2 separate regions of the Homo sapiens genome follow, and region 1 is linked to region 2. The links are contacts of gene promoters, found by promoter capture Hi-C in human tissues and cell types (Jung and others, 2019). All regions are on one chromosome and are shown on one strand. The core of a region is centred on a gene start or on the middle of the fragment in contact, and the rest is flanking DNA. Distances in the headings are between cores, read along the strand shown. Region 1 holds the start of PRPSAP2 (phosphoribosyl pyrophosphate synthetase associated protein 2). Region 2 holds the start of ALKBH5 (alkB homolog 5, RNA demethylase).

What was found. Contacts are between HindIII fragments. The study calls those that stand out against the background at their distance.
Region 1: a fragment that was not itself captured here is called in contact with the fragment with the promoter of ALKBH5 in region 2 in 1 of the 25 tissues and cell types used here (spleen).

The regions. Positions count from the first base shown.
Region 1 is chr17:18,852,675-18,858,701 of GRCh38, forward strand. PRPSAP2 (phosphoribosyl pyrophosphate synthetase associated protein 2) reads left to right here and starts at 5,457. Exons shown (of 12, transcript NM_002767.4): 1 at 5,457-5,587. RefSeq lists enhancers at 3,308-3,808, 3,327-3,376, 3,397-3,456, 5,236-5,808 and a silencer at 5,555-5,914. The HindIII fragment of the contact is 3,412 bases long and covers 1,880-5,291 here.
Region 2 is chr17:18,180,258-18,186,345 of GRCh38, forward strand. ALKBH5 (alkB homolog 5, RNA demethylase) reads left to right here and starts at 3,571. Exons shown (of 4, transcript NM_017758.4): 1 at 3,571-4,756. The coding sequence starts at 3,987. RefSeq lists silencers at 1,238-1,532, 3,669-3,968, 4,049-4,138, 4,297-4,448, 5,672-5,721 and enhancers at 2,959-3,158, 3,219-3,458, 3,566-4,403. The HindIII fragment of the contact is 6,004 bases long and covers 1,945-6,088 here.

The DNA.
Region 1 (6,027 bases), core at 2,336-4,835, 670 kb after region 2:
CAGGTGCCTGCCACAACGCCTGGCTAATTTTCTTGTATTTTTAGTAGAGATGGGGTTTCCCCATGTCAGCCAGGCTGGTCTTGAACTCCTGACCCCAGGTGATCTGCCTGCCTCGGCCTCCCAAAGTGCTGGGATTACAGGTGTGAGCCACCACACCTGGCCCGTGGACAAGTAATTTTAAAAGCCCAGAAAACATTGACTATTCACTTGGACAAGCTAAAAATAATGGATGGTGCCTGGTGTTGGTGAAGATGAAGAGACATGGATGCTCTTCCACCTTCCTGGTGAGACTGTAAATTGGTACAAAATTTCAGGGAACAAAATTTTAAAAGGGCATATCCTTTGACCAAACAAGCTTACCTCTAGAAATTTAACGTGAGGAAATACTTGGGCAAAGGTAGAAAGACAGGTTATGTATTAATAGTAAAAAGTGCCCAGAATGAGGGATTAGTTAAGAGAAAATAATGGTTCATCCATATCACAATAGCTCATAATCGCTGCGGTTAATAGAAAGTGGTAGTCAACTGTGTGCCAGATAACTCAAGTGGTCATCAAGATTCCCCTATGACATAGATGCTGTTATTATTCCTATTTTGTAGATGAGGAAACAGGTATAGAGAGGTTAAGAAACTTGTTGAGGTCACACAGCTGGTGAGGAGAGAAGGAATTTGGATCTAGGCGCTGGTTCCCAAGACTACAGTCTTTCATTCACAGCTCATATCATGATGATGTCGACCTGAATTCATCAACATGGAATCATGCCTGCAATAAATTGTTACAGGGAAAAGGCATATTGGAAAATTCCAAGAGTGGCTACCTCTCCACATGGGATAATGGCAAATATCTTTTTAATTTTTTCTTCTTTCTCATTTGAATTTTTCTTACAATGTGTAAATATTATTATGCTTACAAAAGACAATGAAGTTCTTAGTCCCAGCTGCTGGGGAGCTGAGGCAGGAGAACCGCTTGAACCCAGGAGGCAGAGGTTGCAGTGATCCAAGATCGCGCCACGGCACTCAAGCCTGGATGACAGAGTGAGACTCAGCCTCGGGAAAAAAAAAAAAGACAATGAAGTTCCTTTCATTTTGGGGGAAAATAGAAAAAGGAGAAAAGAGGACGGGCACAGTGGCTCATGCCTGTATTCCCAGCACTCTGGGAGGCCGAGATGGGTGGATCACTTGAGGTCAGGAGTTCGAGACCAGCCTGGCCAACATGGCAAAACTCCATCTCTAGTAAAATTACAAAAATTAGCCGGGTGTGGTGGCATGCACCTGTAGTCCTAGCTACTTGGGAGGCTGAGGCAGGAGAATAGCTTGAACCCGGGAGGGTGGAGGTTGCAGTGAGTCAAGATTGCGCCACTGTACTCCAGTCTGGACAACAGAGCAAGGCTCCATCTCAAAAAAAGAAAAAAGAAAAGAAAAAGGAAAAAAGCTGGAGGATGCAGGAAAGGACTCTATAGGAACTTCCAAGGCCTCCTTGGCTGGTGACCTGGCTTTGGCCTCCGCTGCCTCCTACAGCCAGGCAAGCTGCCATCCTCTTCCACTGGGGAAAAAGGGGTGCCTTGTTTTTCTTCCCTGATAGCCAGACAGGCGAGAGCAGAGAGGCAGCTGCAAAAGCTTCCTCGGTGCCTCATACTCATGGACTCCATCTAAAAGTAACTCCTCACCCCCAACCATCATATGGCTGCTAATATTAGTGCTCATTTTTCCACTGAGGAAACAGAAACTTAGAGAGGTGGATCTGTCCAGGGTCATTTCCACAATGAGGACAGGAGGCAGGAAGCAGGCTCCATCCTAGTGATGGACACCTAAGTCCCTGTTTTTTCATTTGCACAACCATTTGAAGGAGAATCCTGTGTTTTTTGTTACACCATACTGCTCAAAAATTTCTATCAAACTATAGCAAAGATTCCTTTCCTTCCTTTAAAAAATGTTGAAGGGAAATGTCTTAGACTTGAGTATCTTGATTTATAGTCGATATACAGCAGTTTAGCCCTTGAATATGGCCAATGACGTGTTGCAGCAAGCTGAGCACTTCTATTACATGCAAAGACTCTGACTGCAAACATCCAAGTGGGCAAGGGATTATCAAGTTTAGCAATGGACTAACCAAAAACTGCATTCGTGTGGAACTGACCACAAGCTTTACATTATGCTTTTGCTCCTTTCTTGCTCATTACCCATTGTATAACAAAATATGCCCAGACTTGGGCTTTAATAAAAAATTTCTTAGCTCTCAATTTTTTGTGGTTTGATTGGTCTTAGCTAGGTGGCTCTTGCTTAGGGTCTTTCATAAAGTTGCAGTCAGGTGGTGGCTGGGGCTGCAGTCACCTGGTGGGTCAGCTTGGCTGAACACCTACCATGGCACACTCCTATGGCCTAAACCCCAAGGATAAAGAGAATGAGAGTTTTGACATCAGCCTACAAGGGATTTCAATAGTCCTTGGAGAATGGATGGCGGATGGAAGAGTGGTATTGCTATAACAGAACAAATGAAACTACAAACTAAGTGCCTGCAGTGCGGGAAACTATTGAGGAGCAAGCCACCCCACTGCAGAACCCTGGACGCGGTGATACACTGGAGCTAGCTCATTCTGGTTAATGAGAGTGGATTTTTTAAAAAATTCAAGGCCAGGTGTGGTGGCTCATGACTGCAATCCCAGCGTTTTGGAGGTCGAGGCGGGAGGATCACTTGAGCCCAGTTCGAGGCGGCAGTGAGCTATGATTGCACCACTGCACTCCAGCCTGGGCAACAGAGCAAGACTCTGTCTCTTAGAAAAGTTTTTTTTTTTCCAGTAATATTATTCTTGTATGGTGCAAACACTATATAATGCTGCGCTACTGCCCATTTTCTTTCCAGAAAGGATAAGGCACTCAATTTTCCAGACATTTCTTGAGTACCATACTTGTGCCAGGCCCTGGGAAACAGTGATCAGCAGGAGGGACGAAGAGCCCACCCTCATGGGGCTTACAGTGTACAGGGGCTGAGGTGGTGATATTTGTCAAATAACCACCCAAACACTTAATTAGAAATCGTGATAAGCCCAATGAAAGAAAAATACATGAAACAGTTTTATTTGGGAAGGGAGTGGTTTAGGGAAGACTCGAAAGTGACAATGGAGCTATCAAGTTCAAGAAGGAGTTAGTAGGGGAGGAGGCTGCAGGAAGAAGTGCACGCCTGGAGGCAGGAACAGCATGTGTCCCGGTAGTTCAGGGTGGCGGGCCCAGGCGGGTGAGAAAGGGCAATGGAGAAGGAAGGAGAGGAGACCGTGCAGACACTGCAAGTGCCAGAAACCCGATCCACACTGGCTTCAGAGGGTGGAGGGGAGGTTCTTCTTGGCTTCCATAATAGAAATGTCCAGGGACCTACCGACTTCAGATTCAGCGCAAACTCATCTGGGCCCGGTCTGTATCCCTCCCTCTCTTTTCTCTCAGCACTTTCCTCAGGCGGTTCCCCTCCTGGCATCCCAGCAGCTGCAGCATCAGCAGGAGAGAGTAAGCCTCTCCAGTCCCGGCGCAGGGATGGAGACGGTGTTTCGTGGGCTCCGATTGGCTCAGTAGCCTATCTTTGGAGCGAATCAGCGAGCGGAGAGGGATGAACTTCTCTGACTGGCCAGATCCAGTCACATGCCAACATGTGACGCGTGGAATCTACGCCAGCCACAGCAGAGAGGTGGGGGTTGTGACCGGAGTTAGATGCCAGCGCAGAAGGGACGTGAGCCCAGCCGAGGTACCGCTGAAGAGGAATCAATTTTGGTATGCAGATAATCACTGGGCTCATGGGTCTTGCTCTTTACAAAGAGGTATGTCCCTGTAAAGTTGTCAGGCAAAGGAAATGTTTCAAACGACTCCATTTCACGAAGTCTCACCTAATTTACAATTCGTTAGTTGAGATGCTTGTATTCTTCGTTTCTAAAATAAGACGTTGAACCATAAAGACTCTAGCTAGCTCTGCAACCTCTGATGAATATTTCATGCCTCATTATTGTGAAAAATCCAAAGCAGAATTGGAGAGAAGATGTGGTATAGGGATTAGGTAAGTGAAGACTGGTGCAAAGCCTCCTGGGTCGAAATTCTGTCCACTGCTTTGTCATTGGAAAAGTTATTTAACGTCGTCGTCTCAGTTCCCACAACTATTAAAATGGAGAGGATAACAACACCTACCTTATGCTCTTGTGAGGATTAAATAAGTTACCGTTAATATATGTAAAGCACTTAAAAGAGGACCATGTGTTTGCTATTATTATGTTATACATACAATAAAGAGTAAACATTACCTAAGTTATAAAGAACTTAGGCAATGGATACCAAAAGTACTAATTCCTTTATAATAAAAGAAAAAAAGGCGACAAGGCAAATAACGATAATAACTGATAATGGCTGGGCGCGATGGCTCACGCCTGTAACCCCAGGACTTTAGGAGGCGGAGGCGGGCGGATCACTTGAGGTCAGGAGTTTGAGAACAGCCTGGCCAACATGGTGAAACCCTGTCTCTACTAAAAATACAAAAAATTAGTCGGGCGTGGTGGCGCACACCTGTAATCCCAGCTACTCGGGAGGCTGAGACAGGAGAATCGCTTGAACCCGGGAGACGAAGTTTGCAGTGAGCTGAGATCGCGCCGATGCACTCTAGCCTGGACAACAGAGCGAAACTCCGTCTCAAAACAAAAAACTAACAAACGAACAAAAAACTGATCATTTATTATACACCCAGAACTGTGCTTTTAGCACAGTTTTGTTTTGTTTTGTTTTGTTTTTGAGATGGACTCTTGCTCTGTCACCCAGGCTGGAGAGCAGTGGCGCGATCTCGGCTCACTGCAACCTCTGCCTCCCGGGTTCAAGCGATTCTCCTGCCTCAGCCTCCTGAGTAGCTGGGATTACAGGCGCGCACCACCACGCCTGGCTAATTTTTTTTTTTTGTATTTTTAGTAGAGATGGGGGTTTCACCATGTTGGTCAGGCTGGTCTCGAACTCCTGACCTCGTGATCCGCCCGCCTCAGCCTCGCAAAGTGCTGGAATTACAGGCGTGAACCACCGCGTCTGGCCGTATTGTCTCATTTAATCCTCACAACAGTCTTATGGAATGGGTGCTGCTATCTTTGTTTTTCAGATGAGGAAACAAGCTCAGAGGGTTGAAATGACTTGTCCAAGGTTACAGGCCAGTGGAGGCTTGAACCCAGGTATTTGTAATTCCAAATGTCATACTCTGTCCACATTCATTCCTTGTAACCTGCCTGGGCTGTCACAGTTGGTGTGGGGCTAGCAGCTCCCCAGGGACCAAAACAGGCGCATCCCCGCCCACCGCCCCGCCCATCGTGCCAGCCCGACTCCACCCCTGTGGCTACACCCACTGCCCCGCGCCTTACCCACTGGTGGGCCACGCCCACAGCCCCCAGCTAGGTGCCTCCGCTGTCCGGGCTCTAGTCCCGCCCTCGCCCCTCCCCGCCCACCGGCCTCGCAGTCACCGCGGACGCCAATCTTGTGCATGGAGTCGCCATTTTGCTCCTAGAGAGGCCGCCAGGAGACCCGGCGCTTTCTTCCTTCTGCAGCTGAGGCTGCGGCGGGGCCGGGGCTGGGGTCGGGGCCAGGTAGGCGGGCGGGAGCCAGTGGCGAGCGGCAGCGAGGGCTGGCTGGCTCCGGCATTGCGGGGCGCAGGTGCAAGGGGCGGGGAGCCCGCGGCGCCGGCAGGCGGACGGGTCGGGGTCCCTGGGTGGTGGCTGCTTGGGGGCTCACTGGGGCGATCTCGCGCCCGCGGCCCTTCCATTTTTCCCTCCCTTCTTCCTCTCCCGCCAGGGGTCGGCGGGGGCGGGGGACGGGCGTCCGGTGCCTGGGCTCTCTCCTCTCCCTGAGGCGCCGCTGGGGAGTCGAACCCTGATGATGGGACCTGTGGTGAGCAGCCCTGAAAGCAAGCCCAGACCCAGCCATTCTCCGTCCCTAAGCTGACACGGAGCCCCTGATTTTAATTTACCTGGCTTTGCTAGTTACGAATATATCTCTCACCTCCTAAAGGATGATTTTATCCAACTCA
Region 2 (6,088 bases), core at 2,321-4,820:
ACTAGCCTGGGCAACACGGTGAAACCCCGTTTCTACTAAAATAAGAATAATATACAGGGGCAGCCTGCCCCTGTAATCCCAGCTACTCAGGAAGCTGAGGCAGGAGAATGGCTTGAACCTGGGAGGCAGAGGTTGCAGTGAGCCAAGATCATGCCACTGCACTCCAGCCTGGGTGACAGAGTGAGACTCCATCTCCAAAAAAAAAAAAAAAAAAAAAAAAGAATTTAGGATTTCTGGGCCGGGCATGGTGACTAACACTTGTAATCTCAGCACTTTGGGAGGCTGAGGCCAGTGGATCACTTGAGCTCAGGAGTTTGAGAGCAGTCTGACCAACATGGTGAAACCTCTCCTCTACTAAAAATACAAAAATTAGCCGGACATGGTGGCATGCACCTGTAATCCCAGCTACTCAGGAGGCTGAGGCACAAGAGTCACTTGCACCCAGGAGGCGGGGGTTGCAGTGTGTCGAGATCGCGACACTGTACTCCAGCCTGGGCGACAGAGCGAGACTCGGTCTCAAAAAAAAAAAAAATTTAGAATTTCATCCCAAGAGCCATGAGCAGCCTTCAAAGGTTTTCCAGAGGGGGAAGGGGAGGCACAACCTGCACAGACTGTACTTTGTTAAAGCCATTCTGACCACTGAACGGTGAGTGAATGTAGGAGTTGGGGAGACCAGAGGGGGCTGCTGCAGTGTTAGCTGGAAAACTTGTCATAGATTCTAGTGGTGGTGATGGGTGGGGAGAAGTTGGTAACTGGGGAGAGATTAGAAGGCCCAGCTGGCAGGACTAGGGGGTCAATCAGACCATCCTGGGATGGAGAGGATCAAGAAAGAGCCCCTGATACAAATGCCACAGGGCTGTCCTGCTTTTCACCACTGCCTTGGGTTGGCTTTCCCCAGAAGCAGACCCCAAGGTGAGGAAAGTAAGGAACTCACCAGAAAGAGTGTGGTGTCAATCAAGTTACCACTGTGCAGGGGCCATGCCTGGCAGCAGCTCACTTAACCCCTGGGGTTCTGCCTGCGGCGCTGATGCTCAGTATAGGGACCCCCAAAACAGAGCACAGTGGGCTCCAACATGAGGCAGCCCTGAGGCCTGCCCTCTGCCCCTCATTTCTCATTGTTGTGAGATCATACATGGTGTGTGTGAGGGGGAGGGGGTGTCAGGCTAATTCTTTTGCCCCAAAACCTTTTCCCTAGTCAAGCTGAACTATGAGGCTCAGGAAGGGATGATGTGGCAGAGTGAAAACGAGGGGGCCCTTTTGGCTTTCAGAATACAACTGGGGCCTCCCACACAGACTACAAGCGGCTTCTTGGAAGTAGATCATCCAGGTTGAGCCAAAATGTGAATCACCTCTTCTCTAGGTTGACACAGCCTCTCCCATAACGGACACTGCATTGGAAGCTTCCCTGTGTTCCTCCCTGACTGCTCTTGAGCTAGGACTCTCCCCTCTCGGAGCCCCGGTGAGGGACAGCACAGATTCTGGAACCAGGCAGCCTGGGTTTGAATCATCACTAGGCCACATACTCGCTGTATGGCCTTGGGCAAGTCATTTCACCTCTCTGGGCCTGTTTCCCTATATATACAATGGTAATAATAATAATGCCCTCCTCATTGAATTGTTTGGACGATTAATTGGGCTAGTATATGCACAGGTCCTGGCACATAGTAAAAACTTGATAAGCTTTTTAAAAAAATGTCCATTCCAGGCTGGGCGCAGTGGCTTACGCCTGTAATCCCAGCACTTTGGGAGGCCGAGGCAGGAGGATCTTGTGCCCAGTAGTTCCAAGACCAATTTGACAACATGGTGAAACCCCATCTCTGCTAAAAACAGAAAAATTAGCGGGGTGTGGTGGTACACGCCTCTACATAGTTCCAGCTACTCAGGAGGCTGAGGTGTGGGAGGATGTCTTGAACCCGGGAGGTCGAGATTGCAGTCAGCCAAGATCGTGCCACTGCACTTCAGCCTGGGCAACAGAGACTCTGTCAAAAAAGAACGAGGAGGAGGAGGGGAAGGGGGAGAGAGAGAGGGAGACGGGTGATAAGGAACTGGCATGGGCAACAGCCATGGCAAACAGCCTGGGCAAAGGCCAGGAGGTGAGACACAGTATGTTTGTAGACCTGGCTTACAGGATGAGGACCAGGCTGGGGCTCAGTGTACATGGAAAGAGAGGAGAGGAGGAGCCAAGGCCAGAAGAGTCTTGAAGAAAAGCTTTGAGTGCCAAATAAAGCAGGGGAACTTTATCCTGGGAGACATGGGAGATTTTCCAGCAGATCCCCCCCGACCCCCATTTGTTGGAGCCCTCCAGTGCATCCTGCACGGCTACGCCTTTTTGTTTTGTTTTGCAGCTCTGTCGCCCAGGCCGGAGTGCAGTGGCGCCAGCTCGGCTCTCTGCAGCCTCAATCCCCTGGGCTCAAGGGATCCTCCCACCTCAGCCTCCTGAGTAGCTAGGACCATAGGCGCGCGCCACCACGCCCAGTTCATTTTTAAAAATTTTATTGTAGAGATGGGGTTGCCATGTTGGCCAGGCTGGTCTCAAACTCCTGGGCTCAAGTGATCCGCCCGCCTTGGCCTCGCAAAGTGCTGGGATTACAGGCGTGAGGCCCCGCGCCCGGCAACGCCTTTGCTGACTGCTTCAAAACTTTTTTGAATTGACTGTAGTCATTATCTATAGCTTAGCCTTAGCCTTGCGCCCGTTCGTTTCCTGGAGTTTTCTTCCAGAGTCCCCGTAGGAGGTGCCCCCACGCCCATCTCCAGCACCAAGGAGGCTCGACGCCAACCCCAGCGCGCCCCCACGCTCGCCGTCACCGGGACGTGACTCGTGAAACGTCCGCTCCGGGCGGCGGCGGCAGCGGCGGCAGGCTGGCTTGTACCCCGACAACGCGCGTCTGGCTTCTGCCGGACGTTCCTATCTGGGTTCAGAACTGGGGCCGGGTGCTGCAGGTCCCGCAGTCTGAGAAGTTTTCGCGGGTTTCAGAAGTTTCCTTAGGCGTTCTAAGGGCTTTACTCAGGTGGAGTCTCCATTCAGGCACTTATTTAACCACCCATTTCTCCTTTAGGGGTCCTCGCTGCTCGCCCAGCCGCTAATTAAGTGACGGACACAGTAGCTAAGGAGACTGCCTGATTGACACGCATGATTACCAACCGACTTCCGGAAACTCCAGTCAGGGCCTGCCCGGCGCGTGGCCCACGGCCCAATTAAAGAAGTGGAAGCGCCAAAGGGGGAGGTAACGGAGCGGCCTACGTTGTGGCGGTTCCCTGGTGAATGCGCCCTGGGGTTGAGGCGTCTGCGGGCGTTCGGACGATGCCGTGACGCGGCACGGCGACACTGTTGGCAATATGAGCGCACCCCTGTAGAGGGAGCCCTTCGGTCCTGGAGGCGGCGCGGCGTGAAGACAGGTTGCTATTTGAGAGCGTTCCCTTGAAGCCCCTCAGAGAGTGGGGGAGGGGCGGCGGACGGCAAGCGGTTCCTGTCTGCGCTTGCGCCGGCGCCTCTGCCGACCCGGCCTGCACGCACGCGCATGCCCGTAGCGCGCGGAGCCGCGGTGGCCGGCAGCACTGCGCGTGCGCGGTGAGGAGCCCGCTAAGGAGCGGCGCTGGCGGACGTCGGGCTGGCTGCCCGTGACGTCGTGCGGAGAGCTTTAAAGTGCGGGCCGGGCCGGGCGTCCGAGGGTCTGGTCGGGAGTCGGGCCGCGTCTCCGCAGCAGCCCTCCGCGGCATGAGGCGCTGCCGGCGCCCCTGCCCCGCGGGACGTGGAGAAGGTGGAGGAGGAAGAAGCCCCGTTGTCGCCACCGTTGCATGACCCGCCGCTCCTGAGGCCCTACCCCACGCCCGGACCCTCGACGCCCCCCGCCGGGTCCCCCACTCACGCATGGGGGTTCGGCGCTAAGGACCCCCCTCCCTCCGGGGGCCCCGGGGCGCGTCCCCTTAGAGCCATGCCCGGCTGCCCCGCCCGCCCCGGAGGACCCTAGAGCAGCGTCGTGGGGGCCATGGCGGCCGCCAGCGGCTACACGGACCTGCGTGAGAAGCTCAAGTCCATGACGTCCCGGGACAACTATAAGGCGGGCAGCCGGGAGGCCGCCGCCGCTGCCGCAGCCGCCGTAGCCGCCGCAGCCGCAGCCGCCGCTGCCGCCGAACCTTACCCTGTGTCCGGGGCCAAGCGCAAGTATCAGGAGGACTCGGACCCCGAGCGCAGCGACTATGAGGAGCAGCAGCTGCAGAAGGAGGAGGAGGCGCGCAAGGTGAAGAGCGGCATCCGCCAGATGCGCCTCTTCAGCCAGGACGAGTGCGCCAAGATCGAGGCCCGCATTGACGAGGTGGTGTCCCGCGCTGAGAAGGGCCTGTACAACGAGCACACGGTGGACCGGGCCCCACTGCGCAACAAGTACTTCTTCGGCGAAGGCTACACTTACGGCGCCCAGCTGCAGAAGCGCGGGCCCGGCCAGGAGCGCCTCTACCCGCCGGGCGACGTGGACGAGATCCCCGAGTGGGTGCACCAGCTGGTGATCCAAAAGCTGGTGGAGCACCGCGTCATCCCCGAGGGCTTCGTCAACAGCGCCGTCATCAACGACTACCAGCCCGGCGGCTGCATCGTGTCTCACGTGGACCCCATCCACATCTTCGAGCGCCCCATCGTGTCCGTGTCCTTCTTTAGCGACTCTGCGCTGTGCTTCGGCTGCAAGTTCCAGTTCAAGCCTATTCGGGTGTCGGAACCAGTGCTTTCCCTGCCGGTGCGCAGGGGAAGCGTGACTGTGCTCAGGTAACCCACCCGGGTGGAGGGGGCGGCCCTGCGCCTGCTGCCTTAGCTACCCACCCTGGCCCAGAAAGCAGCAGCCCGTAGGAGTCTGCGTTTTTTACAGTTCTGACCAGTTCTTCTGTTTGTAGATTGTAGGGAGCGAGAGAAGGGTTTTGTGTTTAAGATACCTATAGCAAGAAAATAGGGAACCGATGTGGAAATCCTGTCCCCGAAGGCAGGTTTGACGGGATCACTGACTTGGCTGAGAATTCATCGAAAGCCATCTTTTCAGAAGGCTGTTCCCTTTGATTTTTTTTTTTCCCACCATCCATTTCTTAGCATAAGTCCCTTTGTGATTTTCCGGTTTTCCATTCTGGCCTTCCATTTACAAATCTATGCTTTAAAATTTTTTTTTTTTTTAATTTATCTAAAAGTCTTTCTTGTTCTGCCATTTTTGGATTCCTTAACAGAGAAAGTAGTCACAGGCAAAGGCCCCAGAGATTATTTAATTGAAGCACATTCTCCATTCCCAGGAGGGGGAGTGACTTCCCTGGAGTTGAACAGATTAGTGGTTGGGCCAGGCATACAGAGCAGCACACTCTTAAAATTCTTCCCTCCTGGCTGCAGAAGAGCCCATCAGTTCTTTGTAAGAACGTGTTACTTGTAGTCAGGACTGAATACAACAGAATACAGCTGGTCTCTTGACTGTTTGGCCTTACAGTTGCGTGAGCAGCAGAACTTAGGCTTTTGGCCTATATTCGGTTCCCAGATCCTGCTGAGAATTAGCTCAGTGCCCTGGCCCCCAGAGGAGATTGCCATTGGGAACACCTTTGCTGTTTATGTGAAGTGAAAATTTATTTGGAAGCGGCCTCCTTCCAGTCCTGAAAAAGGTAAACCTAGTAATGTAATTCAGTAATACCCAAAACATCTTAGGTTTAGACCGCAGCTGTTCTCAGAGCAGCTTGGTTGACCACCACCAAATACAAGGTTGAGGACACACTGGGCTTTTGTCGTGAGCAGCCCAGGTTCTGAAGTGAGTCAGTAGGGCCAAAGTCATGAGGAGAAGCAGGGTCCCTGGAGCCTTCTTGATATGAGATTAGGTCATCTGTTTCATTTGAGTCTAACAGCTGAGGCTGCTTCCATGTTGGGGATGGCAGCAGAGCCTTGTAATGTCCAAGACGTCCTGGTGGGAAGGTGGGAAGTCAGTAGTAGCAGAAGCGATACTTTAGCTCTTTAGGCATCTGAAACTTAGAGGACAGCCTAGCTGTCAGATGCCTTCTTATAATGGGCTTCTGAGCTTCTCAGATCTTCATGGCGCTCCTAGATGGATGTCTTGGCAAAATGCTTTAAGATGGG